Regions from separate parts of the Homo sapiens genome. Here regions 1, 2 and 3 are each linked to region 4. Evidence: promoter capture Hi-C in human tissues and cell types (Jung and others, 2019). All regions are on one chromosome and are shown on one strand. The core of a region is centred on a gene start or on the middle of the fragment in contact, and the rest is flanking DNA. Distances in the headings are between cores, read along the strand shown. Region 1 has its middle 9.9 kb from the start of MARCHF10-AS1. Region 2 overlaps TANC2 (tetratricopeptide repeat, ankyrin repeat and coiled-coil containing 2). Region 3 overlaps TANC2 (tetratricopeptide repeat, ankyrin repeat and coiled-coil containing 2). Region 4 holds the start of MAP3K3 (mitogen-activated protein kinase kinase kinase 3).

The links. Contacts are between HindIII fragments. The study calls those that stand out against the background at their distance.
Region 1: a fragment that was not itself captured here is called in contact with the fragment with the promoter of MAP3K3 in region 4 in 1 of the 25 tissues and cell types used here (dorsolateral prefrontal cortex).
Region 2: a contact is called between a fragment that was not itself captured here and the fragment with the promoter of MAP3K3 in region 4, in 1 of the 25 tissues and cell types used here (hippocampus).
Region 3: a contact is called between a fragment that was not itself captured here and the fragment with the promoter of MAP3K3 in region 4, in 1 of the 25 tissues and cell types used here (hippocampus).

The regions. Positions count from the first base shown.
Region 1 is chr17:62,694,739-62,697,869 of GRCh38, reverse strand. No RefSeq gene overlaps it. Among named protein-coding and RNA genes, the nearest start is that of MARCHF10-AS1, 9.9 kb to the left of the region's middle. The HindIII fragment of the contact is 8,069 bases long and covers 1-3,131 here.
Region 2 is chr17:63,090,093-63,093,291 of GRCh38, reverse strand. All of the region lies in intron 3 of TANC2 (tetratricopeptide repeat, ankyrin repeat and coiled-coil containing 2), which reads right to left. Among named protein-coding and RNA genes, the nearest start is that of TANC2, 130 kb to the right of the region's middle. The HindIII fragment of the contact is 7,427 bases long and covers 1-3,199 here.
Region 3 is chr17:63,072,361-63,075,478 of GRCh38, reverse strand. It overlaps TANC2 (tetratricopeptide repeat, ankyrin repeat and coiled-coil containing 2), which reads right to left. Exons shown (of 28, transcript NM_001394998.1): 3 at 1,465-1,536. Among named protein-coding and RNA genes, the nearest start is that of TANC2, 110 kb to the right of the region's middle. The HindIII fragment of the contact is 3,473 bases long and covers 1-3,118 here.
Region 4 is chr17:63,620,507-63,623,686 of GRCh38, reverse strand. It overlaps MAP3K3 (mitogen-activated protein kinase kinase kinase 3), which reads right to left and starts at 1,270. Exons shown (of 16, transcript NM_002401.5): 1 at 924-1,270. The coding sequence starts at 927. RefSeq lists silencers at 520-569, 810-869, 960-1,349, 1,960-2,029. The HindIII fragment of the contact is 13,015 bases long and covers 1-3,180 here.

The sequences.
Region 1 (3,131 bases), core at 97-2,596, 930 kb after region 4:
TGTGCCTTAGCTTTCTCATCTGTAAGAGGGGGACAGTAGCACCTACCTTATGTTGTATTGGGAAGATTAAGTGAGTTAATACGTGTTAAGCAGTTAGAACAGGGCGTGTACATAGTAAATAATACCTATTTTGTTATTATCATTGTCATGGAGGAATAGTGGGTCAGAGGCAGTGTTCTGAGCCCCCTGCAGCCCCAGTATGAGGAAAGACACCATCCAAGGTTCCCCAAGTCCCTGAGGGAGATGCAGAAGGGCAGGACACCCCTGCATAAGCCAGCGGGGACATAAATGACCGGGAACCAGATGTCCCTCCCCCAGCTGTGAAACCTGGACGCTCCATAGGACCTTAGAGGCACCTGGAAATATAGGCGAAAATCCCAACTGCACTAGAAAACCTTAACTGACCAGGATTTCCCTGAAATGGCTATAACTAAAGCTCTGCCATCAGCCGATGCAAGGAGACAGTTAAGGTTCTGCACTCCTCACTGTGTGGCCTTGAACCTCAGCGCCCCCAGCGTGTCCACCTCCAGCAGGAAAGGCCTGCCCACCGCTCCTCCTCCTCCCCTTTCTCCAGCGCTGGCATCCCGCCTGCTTGTCTGGCCAAGGAAGGATTGAAATCTGTCCCTCAAATGGTGCTGGTTCTGGTGGGAGTGAAGCCTGCAGGCTTTCCCCGGGGCCTCTTGGCAGTCCCAGCCCCGAAGATAAAGAAAATCAGGCCTGTCCGGAACATCTCGGTACTTTCATCTGGTGCTGGTCTTTCACAGCCCCCTTCATTTCCCTGCTGTCCTTTGCCCGCCCTCCCTCCCTCCAGCCTGCCTTCCTCCGGGTCCTCCCTCAAGTCGCAATTCTTTGCCTTGTGCCTGCAATGGACTCAAGCCCTGGTGCTCGAGGCGGCTTGGCCGGGCTCAGGTGGCTCCGTTCCAGGAGAGCCATGTGGTGTGGCTGGCGGCTCCTCACCCCTGCGGCCTCACAGGGCTGCCCACTGGGCCAGGCCAGCTCTGCCAGCACACCTTCGAGGAGGCCATCTCTGGCGCGACAAGAAGCGGTTGAGAGAATGCTGTTCTCTGGAGAGCAGCCGCATTCTCCCATTCATTCACGGATCCAGGTGGCCAGAGCGGGGCGGGTTAACCCTGCAAGTGAAGGCTGGGCCTAGCGCCTGGCATACAGTGCTGATTGCCCAGGCCTGCCAGGATAGGCTTGGGGGCATCTGCCACCCAGCAAAGAGCCTGGTATGTAGAGGAGGTACTTGATGTATTGAAATGAAATGAGCAGAAAGGAAGGAGACTGCCACCAGGGCTATCCTGAGCCAGAGGGTGAGTGGCCGGCATCCAGAGCCTGCCTCCTGCCCCTTCAGAGAGATGCAGGAGCCTCCCTTAGTCATCTCTGGGCAGGCTTAGAACGAGGTCTAGGGGTAGCCTCCAGGCACCCGTGACGCTGTCTGAAATGCTTGCAGGTGGGTGCAGGGCCCTGGGGAGACTCGTCACCTGAGCAAGGCAGAGAGACGTGAGGAGAGCAGGCACCAGCCACTGACGAGGGCAGCTCTGGCCACTGGGGTCCTCCGTCCCTCCGCTGCTCCCTCCCACCCCTCAAGCTAGTGATCCGGACCTCACTCCTTGACCTTTCTTCTCTCCCGAGGTTAGAGTCACTAGGGTCTTGGGGGGCCTCTCCCCCAATGTTTCTTGTGGTGTTGTGTCTGGAGTTGGTTCCTTCCAGTGGGTTCGTGGTCTCACTGACCTCAAGAATGAAGCCTCGGACCTTCACGGTGAGTGTTACAGCTCTTTTTTTTTGTTTTTGAGACAGAGTCTCGCTCTGTCGCCCAGGCTGGAGTGCAGTGGCACAATCTCGGCTCACTGCAAGCTCCGCCTCCTGGGTTCACGCCATTCTCCTGCCTCAGCCTCCCGAGTAGCTGGGACTACAGACGCCTGTCACCACGCCCAGTTAATTTTTTGTATTTTTAATAGAGATGGGGTTTCACCATGTTAGCCAGGATAGTCTTGATCTCCTGACCTCATGATCTGCCTGTCTCGGCCTCCCAAAGTGCTGGGATTACAGGCGTGAGCCACCATGCCTGGCCTAGTGTTACAGCTCTTAAAAGTGGCACGGACCCAAAGAGTGAGGAGCAGCAGCAAGATTTATTGTGAAGAGTGAAAGAACAAAGCTTCCACAGTATGGAAGAGGACCTGAGCGGGTTGCTGCTAGGGGTGGGGTGGGTGGGGAGGACACAGCTTTTATTCCCTTATTTGTCCCCGCCCATGTCCTGCTGATTGGTCCATTTTACAGAGTGCTGATTGGTCCATTTTACAAACCTCTAGCCAGGTACAGAGTGCTGATTAGTGCATTTTTACAGAGCACTGATTGGTGCATTTTACAAACCTCTAGCTAGCTACAGAGCACCAATTGGTGCATTTTTACAGAGCACTGATTTTACAAACCTCTTGTAAGAAAAGTTCTCCAAGTCCCCACTCAACCTAGGAAGTCCAGCTGGCTTCACCTCTCACTGTGGGCAGTGGCAGGGCACTTAACTCACAAAGGGAGCTGTTTGGGCTGCAGGGCTAGATAGCAACTCACTCCAGGGTGAACCTCCCACAGGACTGGGACTCCCTCCCCTGAGTGATTAGGCGCCTTCCATGGGTCCTGCTGTTGCTGGGGCGGCACAGAGAGGATTGCTGGAGGGGGTCCCCTGGGCTCCACCGTAGTCCTGGACTCAGGCCAGCAGCTCATGGGCTCTCCCTAGGGCTCCTGTCTCAGGAAACAGCACCCCATTCACCCTGCAGTCCAGGCGGGAAGCTTGGAGTGCTTCCTGACTCCCACTGCCTTTCCCCAGGCAGATCCCATCCCCAGCAAGGGCATCCGCCATCCCTTCAGTCCAATCTGGCGTTCATTTGCTTTCACAAAGAAACACTGGAAAGACAGGAAACTGACAGGGCAGGAGGGTATAGGCTGGAGGGCGACGGGCAGGGGCAGGACTTGCGCAACATCTATCTTGGGATATCATTTAGGTATCCCACGCAATGCAGACTGCGTGACTGCATTGTCTATTCATAAAAGTGGAAACTTATTTTAAATATCATGAACAGGGCAAAACACACACACACGCACGCGCGCGCACACACACACACACACACACACAC
Region 2 (3,199 bases), core at 671-3,170, 530 kb after region 4:
AAACATCAAAGAGAAATTAGTCACAGACTGAAAATGTTAAAAAAAAAAACTATAAAACTATTAGAAGAAACTATAAAACTATAAAATTATAAACATTTTAGAAGAAAACACAGGAGAAAATCTGTGTGACCTTGGGTCAGGTAGATTTCTTACAAAGGATCCCAAAAAGATGAACCATATTAAAAAACGGATGAACTGGAATTCACAAAAATTAAAAATTTCTACTCTTCAAATGATAGTGTTACAAAATGAAAAGCAGTACCGATTGAAAGAAAATACTTGCAAAACACATATCTAATAAAGGACTAGTAGTTAGGCTGTAAGAACTCTTAACTCAGGAACAAGAATGCAAACTACCCAATTTTAAAAATGGGCAAAAGATCTGAACAGACGCTTCACTAAGTAAGAAACATGGATGATAATATAGTTTGGATATTTGCCCCGCCCCTATCTCATGTTGAACTGTAATCACCAATACTGAAGGTGGGCCTGTTGGGAGGTGTTTGGATGATGGCCGGAGGGGGATCCCTCATAGCTTGTTGCTGTCTTCGTGATAGTGAGTTCTCATGAGATATGGTCATTTAAAAGTATGTATCACCTCCCTCCACCCCTTGCTCCTGCTCCCGCCATGTGAGAAGGTGGCTTCCCCATCCACCTTCCACTATGATTGAAAGTTCCCTAAAGCTTCCCTAGAAGCCAAGCAGATGCCAGCACCATGATTCCTGTACAGCTTCCAGAATTGTGAGCCAATTAAACCTCTTTTCTTTATATACTACCCAGTCTCAGGTATTTCTTTATAGCAATGCAAGAATGGCCTAATACAGATGCTCAACATCATTAATCATTACAGTAATTCAAACTAGGAGTTACTACTACACACCTAGTAAAATGGCTAAAAAAAAAAAATACCAGCAAAACCGAGTGCTGACAAGAATGAACTACAGCTCTCATATACTGCTGGTGACAATATCAACTGGTATATATAAGTTGGGAAACAGTTTGGCAGTTTGTAAGTAAACCTACCATATGACCCAGAAATCCAGCTCCTAGGAATTTACCCAAAAGAAATGAAGATATATGTCCCTCCTCCCACACACAAATAGAAAAATTATTACTCTCCACAAACTGAAAAGTACCCAAATGTCCATCAACTGATGAATGAACAAATTGTGACATATACATGCAACAGAATCTTACTCAGCAATAAAAAGAATGAACTTCTGATGTGTGCACAAAAATTAAAAATGGGTAATATGTTCTTATACACCAATAACAGACAAACAGAGAGCCAAATCATGAGTGAACTCCCATTCACAATTGCTACAAAGAGAATAAAATACCTAGGAATCCAACTTACAAGGGATATGAAGGAGCTCTTCAAGGAGAACTACAAACCACTGCTCAACGAAATAAAAGAGGACACAAACAAATGGAAGAACATTCCATGCTCATGGATAGGAAGAATCAATATTGTGAAAATGGCCATACTGCCCAAGGTAATTTATAGATTCAATGCCATCCCCATCAAGCTACCAATGATTTTCTTCACAGAATTGGAAAAAACTACTTTAAAGTTCATATGGAACCAAAAAAGGGGCCCGCATTTCTAAGACAATCCTAAGCCAAAAGAACAAAGCTGGAGGCATCATGCTACCTGACTTCAAACTATACTACAAGGCTACAGTAACCAAAACAGCATGGTACTGGTACCAAAACAGAGGTATCGACCAATGGAACAGAACAGAGCCCTCAGAAATAATACCACACATCTACAACCATCTGATCTTTGACAAACCTGAGAAAAACAAGAAATGGGGGAAGGATTCCCTATTTAATAAATGGGGCTGGGAAAACTGGCTAGCCATATGTAGAAAGCTGAAACTGGATCCCTTCCTTTCACCTTATACAAAAATTAATTCAAGATGGATTAAAGACTTAAATGTAAGACCTAAAACCATAAAAACCCTAGAAGAAAACCTAGGCAATACCATTCAGGACACAGGCATGGTCAAGGACTTCATGTCTAAAACACCAAAAGCAATGGCAACAAAAGCCAAAATTGACAAATGAGATCTAATTAAACTAAGGAGCTTCTGCACAGCAAAAGAAACCACTATCAGAGTGAACAGGCAACCTACAGAATGGGAGAAAATTTTTGCAATCTACTCATCTGACAAAGGGCTAATATCCAGAATCTACAAAGAACTTAAACAAATTTACAAAAAAAAAAAACAAACAACCCCATCAACAAGTGGGCAAAGGATATGAACAGACACTTCTCAAAAGAAGACATTTATGCAGCCAACAGACACATGAAAAAATGTTCTTCATCACTGGTCATCAGAGAAATGCAAATCAAAACCACAATGAGATACCATCTCACACCAGTTAGAATGGCAATCATTAAAAAGTCAGGAAACAACAGGTGCTGGAGAGGATGTGGAGAAATAGGAACACTTTTACACTGTTGGTGTGACTGTAAACTAGTTCAACCACTGTGGAAGACAGTGTGGTGATTCCTCAAGGATCTAGAAGTAGAAATACCATTTGACCCAGCCATCCCATTACTGGCTATATACCCAAAGGATTATAAATCATGCTGCTATAAAGACACATGCGCACGTATGTTTATTGCAGCACTATTCACAATAGCAAAGACTTGGAACCAACCCAAATGTCCATCAATGATAGACTGGATTAAGAAAACGTGGCACATATACACCAGGGAATACTATGCAGCCATGAAAAAGGATGAGTTCGTGTCCTTTGTAGGGACATGGATGAAGCCGGAAACCATCATTCTGAGCAAACTATTGCAAGGACAGCAAATACCACACGTTCTCACTCATAGGTGGGAACTGAACAATGAGAACACATGGACACAGGAAGGGGAACATCACACACCGGGGCCTGTTGTGGGGTGGGGAAAGTGGGGAGGGATGGCACTAGGAGATGTACCTAATGTAAATGATGAGTTAATGGGTGCAGCACACCAACATGGCACACGTATACATATGTAACAAACCTGCACATTGTGCACATGTACCCTAGAACTTAAAGTACAAAAAAAAAAAAACTCAAAAAAAAAAGTCAGTAATACGGTCAAAAGACTATATACTACATGGCTTCATTTACAGAATATTCTGGGAAATACTATAGTATTAGAAAACACTTAAGTCGTTGCTAGGGATTAGGTTGA
Region 3 (3,118 bases), core at 469-2,968, 550 kb after region 4:
ACATGCTTTTACTATCAATTAACTCTAACAATGATACAATTCCTGGTGACTTCAAATTGAGATCACGTAGTTGTCCTCTGGATCACAGAAATCCCTGGTTTTGTTGTTTGAAGTTTTAGCTTTGTTAATAAAATTCAATTACGCTCATTGATTTGAAAAATATTTTAACTGACAAAGCTCAGAGTAAATTAGATAAGTGATTTCAAACATCTATATTTGATACTTAATAAAATTTGACATTTAATAATTACAATTTTAGTAGTAATTTGTACTAATTTTATTTTTAGAGTTTTACATAATCTCATTTTTATATCAAAATATGTTTACAGGGAAAATAAGAGTGAATAAGATAAATTCCAGACATAGTCATAATACATGCTTATTACTTAAGTATGATTAAGTATTAGCATAAGTTAAAATTTTCAACTCATATTATTCCTCTTTTTAATCTGCAACAAACAGTTTTATAAAAATAGTACAGCTCTAAAAACTGGGAAGAGCAAACTTGGAGAAAAAGAGGGACACGATTATAGAATAAATAAATCTGAAGCTTTTACAGGATTAAAAACTGCACATCTGTAAATCTCAGCTTTATTTTATTTTATGCTATTAAAGATTCTTTGAAAACCAAACTCAATAAATGATTGTCTGAAATTTTATAATCTATTTTTCATCATTTTGGGTTCTCAACTCATTCTCTTTCAGATCATTCATTCACCATTTATTTAGTGACTACTATATACTATGTACTTATTATTGGCACATAAGGATACAGCAGTGAACAAAGCATAAAAATCACTGCTATCACGCAACATCCATTCTAGTTTTGAACAGAGAAAATAAACAGAATAAATAGGAAGGTGGTAAGTACTATAAAGAAAAAGGAATAGAGAGCTGGTGGTCATGCAATGTTAAATAAGTTAGAAAAGGTCTAACTGGGTATTTCACTGACTCAGAATGTTTTTACCTAGTTTTGAAGTTGTCCCTTCAAAAATTAATCAAAGGCCTATGATAATAAATTTTAAATAGAAAAGAAAAATAAGTAGGAAGATCCTAATATAGCAATTACCAACAAAAACCATTTCTTCTGAGACAGCTAAGACAACAAATACTATATTGATGAAATTTAAAAAGCCAGTGTGTGATGATACTCCAACAAATGTTGGTGTTGAAAATTCACTTTTGGATCCATTCCAAAAGTGATATCCAGATATATACCATAATGCTTCAAAATTACTTAAAAGTTAATATCATTTAAAAAAACAGGCACAAGACAATATTTAATTTTCATATATCTTGAATAAATAATATATAGATTTTTACATCATATCATTTAAATCCTAAATGAGAAACTAGAATATCTAAACTATACCATGGCAATATCCTAGTCTCCAAATTAAGTACTAGAAAGAAATATCTATCGTTATTTTTTGAAATTTAATAATCAATCTGATGAAAATTTACCTTGCCCAGAGCGGCTTTGGCGAGAGTCTACACTTGACTGTCTTCGATCCGGTGGTTCCTCGCTCCCTCCATCTGCATAAAATTAAAAGGAGCATAAGCAAATAGATAATGAGATTGACATAACAGTGTCTCTGACATTATCTACATTTAAAACTACTATATCGATCATTTATTTGTATTTCCTATAATCCGGATCATTAAAATATTTGAGGATTTTTCTTATATAAACCAATGGTTCTTACCCTGATTTTTGTGGGTTTACACTCCCCTCTTGAAGTCTTAAGAAAGTGTAGGTGTTTTTCCCCTCCCCCATATGTATATACTCTACTTTGCATATAATGAAGGAAAGTTATCAACACCAAAGTTCAGTCACAGAATTCCAGTTAAGAAGGCCTGATTTAAAACAATCTTTTAAATTAATTACAGCTGCTTTTTCTGTCTAAAGTACAACAGCACATCAAATAATCCCTAGTACTGTTTTACTATAATAAGAATTACATTCGTATGTTTTATGAAATAAAAATCAATAAACCTATAAAATAAATCAATAAAAGCTAAAAACCAAATAAATCTTGAGTTTATTTTACCATGATTTTTAAAATTATATAGAAACAAATCCATTTCATTGTATACATCTTCTTTTAAGAAATAACCAAAACAGTATATTCCCTCATGCATGTTAAGAAAAGCTAAAACAAATTTTACTTTATTGTAAATAATTGCCTCAATTTTGTTATATAGAAACAGAAAAATTATGCATCATAAATTCATTAAAATAGGCACAGTAAAACAGAAATTAATATATTAAGAATGTAAAGTATAATATAAAATATGAAACTAAACCAAGCAAAATCTTTAACATAGTGGTCTATACACCTATAAATTTGTTATCACTTTAATCAGATGAAAAATGCATTAAGGCATCAAACAATTTCCTTTGTTCGTTCTTTCATACAATCACTTGTCTTATTTTTAACTTGACAGGGAAAAGGGGTAGTAGCTGCAAGCAGGTTTAATAAAGAGTATTCTTGCTCTGTCATCTACTTATTCTATGGTTTATTGTTTTTAATAGAGCTCGTGTAGTAACATCTATTGCTTTTTAAACAGAATGGCCTGTTTTTTAATTCATTATTGATATAAAGCTTCCTTTTAAGTATATTTATTATATGTAAGGCCTAGCAATAATTAAATCCAATTCATGTATATATATCAACTATTCTCTATTTTGTAGAGGGCTGTTAAACTAGCAAGTACAGTAACATTTAATCAATCGATTCCAAATATACGACGACAATACAAAATAATAAGTACATTGCCAGGAAATATTCATATCTCTTAGTCCACAGTAATCTAGTAAAACACTCCACTAATTTAGTCAGATTTGTAAAATAACTTATCACATAGAAAGATACTCAAAGTGATAGGCAACCATATTTTTTCCTCCAGTATGAAAATACTTTTTAAATATAAATCAGTTTATTTTAGTTCTGCTGTTACTATATAAGTTACCACATTTGAATAAAAATAGACATGTTGACAAAATAAGGTGTTATCTGAAAGACAAATATAAGAAATTTTTCTTTGACATTATTTTTAAAAATTAAAGCAAAAATCTACTCATGGATTATCATCTCTGAATGGCTGATCTGCCTCT
Region 4 (3,180 bases), core at 21-2,520:
TTAGTCTAGTCCAGTAGTCATTTGCTAAACTACCAAAAAGGATATGGAATATAATTCAACTCAAATGCTACGTGCGGAAGACATTAAAAGCTTTCCTTAGATTACATCTTCACAGTAGAAATTGTAAATACTGACAAAAAGGAAGTGATTTCAGAGAAATTCTTTTGTGTAGCAAATGTTTCTTTCAAAAGTTACATAATTTCAGGGATACCGCAAGAAAAAAATAATGGATTAAACCCCTGCAACGGGATTTTTCAAAAAGTAGGATGTGAATTCTAACTGGCAGCATCCGACCAACTCCTGACCCCCAGCAATCTGCGTGCAGCACGCATTTGTCAACCGCGCGCTTGATCACAGCTCCAGTTTAATCGCCTCCTAGCCGAGCCCCGCACGCCCTCCCCCCTGCGCTGGGGCGCGCACAGGGCTGGAGAGCAAGCCCCGGGAACTCTCACAGGCCGGCCTGTGTGAGCAAAGGGAAGGAAATGACACAGGCAGGAAAAAAAAGCAAATCAAGGAAAAGACACAACAGCAGCTGGGCCTGCGGCAGCCTCCAGCCCGGGCCCCACACTGCGCTCTTGCTCCCCCGCCCTCGGGCTCGCGGTCCGGCTCGTTCGGACCAGGCTGCCCCGCGGAGCACGGGCCCTCGGTCCCGCCGCCGCTTCCCCGGGATGCGCCCGCCGCGCCGCCCAGAAGGAGGGCTGCCGAGCGGGCTCTGCCGGCCGGGCCGCCCCGCGGAGCCAGAACCCCCGCCCGGGCCGCGGCGCGCGAGCGGGGCGGGCGGCCGGCCGGCCGGCGGTCCGCAGCCCCGGGCCGGGCGGGCTGTCCATGCCTGTCAGGCGGTGGCCCAGGGTCCTCCTCCCTCAGCCTGGGGCGGGGCGTCGCGAAGCAGCGCGGGCACAGGCCGGGGCGGTGGCGACACTTACCCATGGTGGCGATGGCGGCGGCGGTGGCTAAGGTCCGTGAGTGTCACCTCCGCAGCCGGGGCTGCATGCCGGGGGCCCGGGCGGCGGGGACGGCAGCGGGCCTGGCTCCGCGCGGGGGGCGCGGGCTGCGCTCTGGGCCCCCGCCGCCTCCCCAGGCTCCGGCTCCGGCTCCGCCCGCGGCCGGGCGCTGTGGCATCGGCAGGGTGGCCCGCTACATCCCGGGCGCTCCTGGGCTCGGCCCAGCCCGGCCTCGGCGGCGCCGCTCGGCCCGCCCGCCCGCCAGTCCCTCAGACCCGCAGTCTCTCCGTCCGGCCACCGTTCTCCACCTCAGGAACGCTCCGAAAAACAAACCGCTGGTCGCGCAGCTCGCCCCCCTGTCTGTCACTCACGCCGGCCCCCACCAATCCCAGGCAGCCGCTGGGCCGTCGCACCACCCCCACCCACCTCACCAGCCAATAACAAGAAGGAAGTCGGCAGCCCCCGCCGTCCCCCTCCAACTCTCTCCCAACACCCTAACTCTCAGCGGCCAGCTAATCATCAGCACCACACGATGAACCAATCCCGCCTACTCTCACAGGATGCCAATGGGCGAAGCCAAGGCGGTTTCCGAGGGCTGTCTAGCGCCTGCCAATCATCGGGACAGCGCCCGGCTCCCTGCGCTGTTAGCCAATCACGTAGAGGCCTCTAAGCCCCCGCCTCTGCGCATCCCTCTCTGGTGCTGTCTCCCTCTCTTGGGAGAGATTGGGAGGTGTTGGTTGTTCCAATCACAGCTCCGGCGTGAGGCTCCGCCCACATTCCCACCTCCCGTCAGTCACCGAAGGCTCGGCGGGCGCGCGGGCTGGCGCAGTTCCCCGCCGGCTACTTTAGGGCTGGGGTGAGGAGTAGGCGGCTGCAGGGGGCCCTCAGGCCTTCCGCCCTCCGGGTTCTCGGAGGCCCCAGCGATCTGGGTGGTTCCAGAGGGTGGCGTCCTGCTCCTCCCCGTGCCCAGCACAGGGCGTGTAACGAGTGGGGAGGGTCTGGCCTGAGCACTTCCCGGCGCGCGGCCACCTCTGCGGCCCCATCCCCCGACTGGTCCTCCGGTCCCGACGCTGCTCTTGCCCCGGGCAGGGGCGGCCGGCCCAGCCCAGCTTTCCCTGTCTCACACCTCCAGGGCCACACCCTCTGGTCTAGGTACCTCAGACACCCGAGGCTGGGATAGTGCTGGCATGTGGGTCCCTGGAAATCTGAGTTCCGCCAGAGGTTCTTTCAGAAAATAACTTTTTTCTTATAAAAGCAACACGAGCTTTTTGTAGGAAAATTGAAAAATGCAGAAAACTATGAAAAAGAAAAGATCCCACCCCAGAGATAATCTATTTCCTACCTAGATAGGCGTTTGACAAAAATGGCTTTGTATTGTTTTGTAGTATGCTTACATTTTATTCTGTTTTCCCGTGCCACCAAATATCCTTCCAAAACAATTGTACTGATTGCATGATGTTTCAAAATTAAAGGCACCATAATTAATTTCCCCAACCTTTTCATTGTTCAACATTTTATACACTCAGATCTTCAGATTCCAAGTCCACCACAATTAATGTGGGCTCCTTTCTCCGGCCTCTGTTCCAGTGTAATATGTCAGGCTCCAGAATAATCTTCCTCAGATGTCATTGTCCACTGTCCACTAAGAACATTTAGTGGTGGCTTTGCCTTGAGTGTCAAATCCCTTAAGAATTACCTTGGGCTCTCCCCTATTTCTTTTCTTTTTCTTTTTTATTTTTCGAGATGGAGTCTCACACTGTCGTCCAGGCTGGAGTGCAGTGGCGCGATCTCGGCTCACTGCAACCTCCGTCTCCCGTGTTCAAGCAATTCTCCTGCTTCAGCCTCTCAAGTAGCTGGGATTAACAGGCGTGCGCCACCACGCCCGGCTAATTTTTGAATTTTTAGTAGAGACGGGGTTTCGCCATGTTGTCCAGGCTGGTCTCGAACTCCAGACCTCAGGTGATCCGCCAGCCTCGGCCTCCCAAAGTGCTGGGATTACAGGCGTGAGCCACTGCAAGCAGCCTCCCTTATTTCTTTACACTCATCTCCGTATATTTAATCAGCCCCCTTGTCCTGTTTTCTTTTTCTTCCAACAAGCTTAAGCCTGCCATATTCCCACTTGATTTGGTCTCTACCCAGTTTACTGGAGTTCCTTAACTATAATAATCTCTATTCTTGAAAGCGGGGATAAAGGGGAAAGAAAATTAGTATTTATCAATATAACAGGCACGTCATTGCA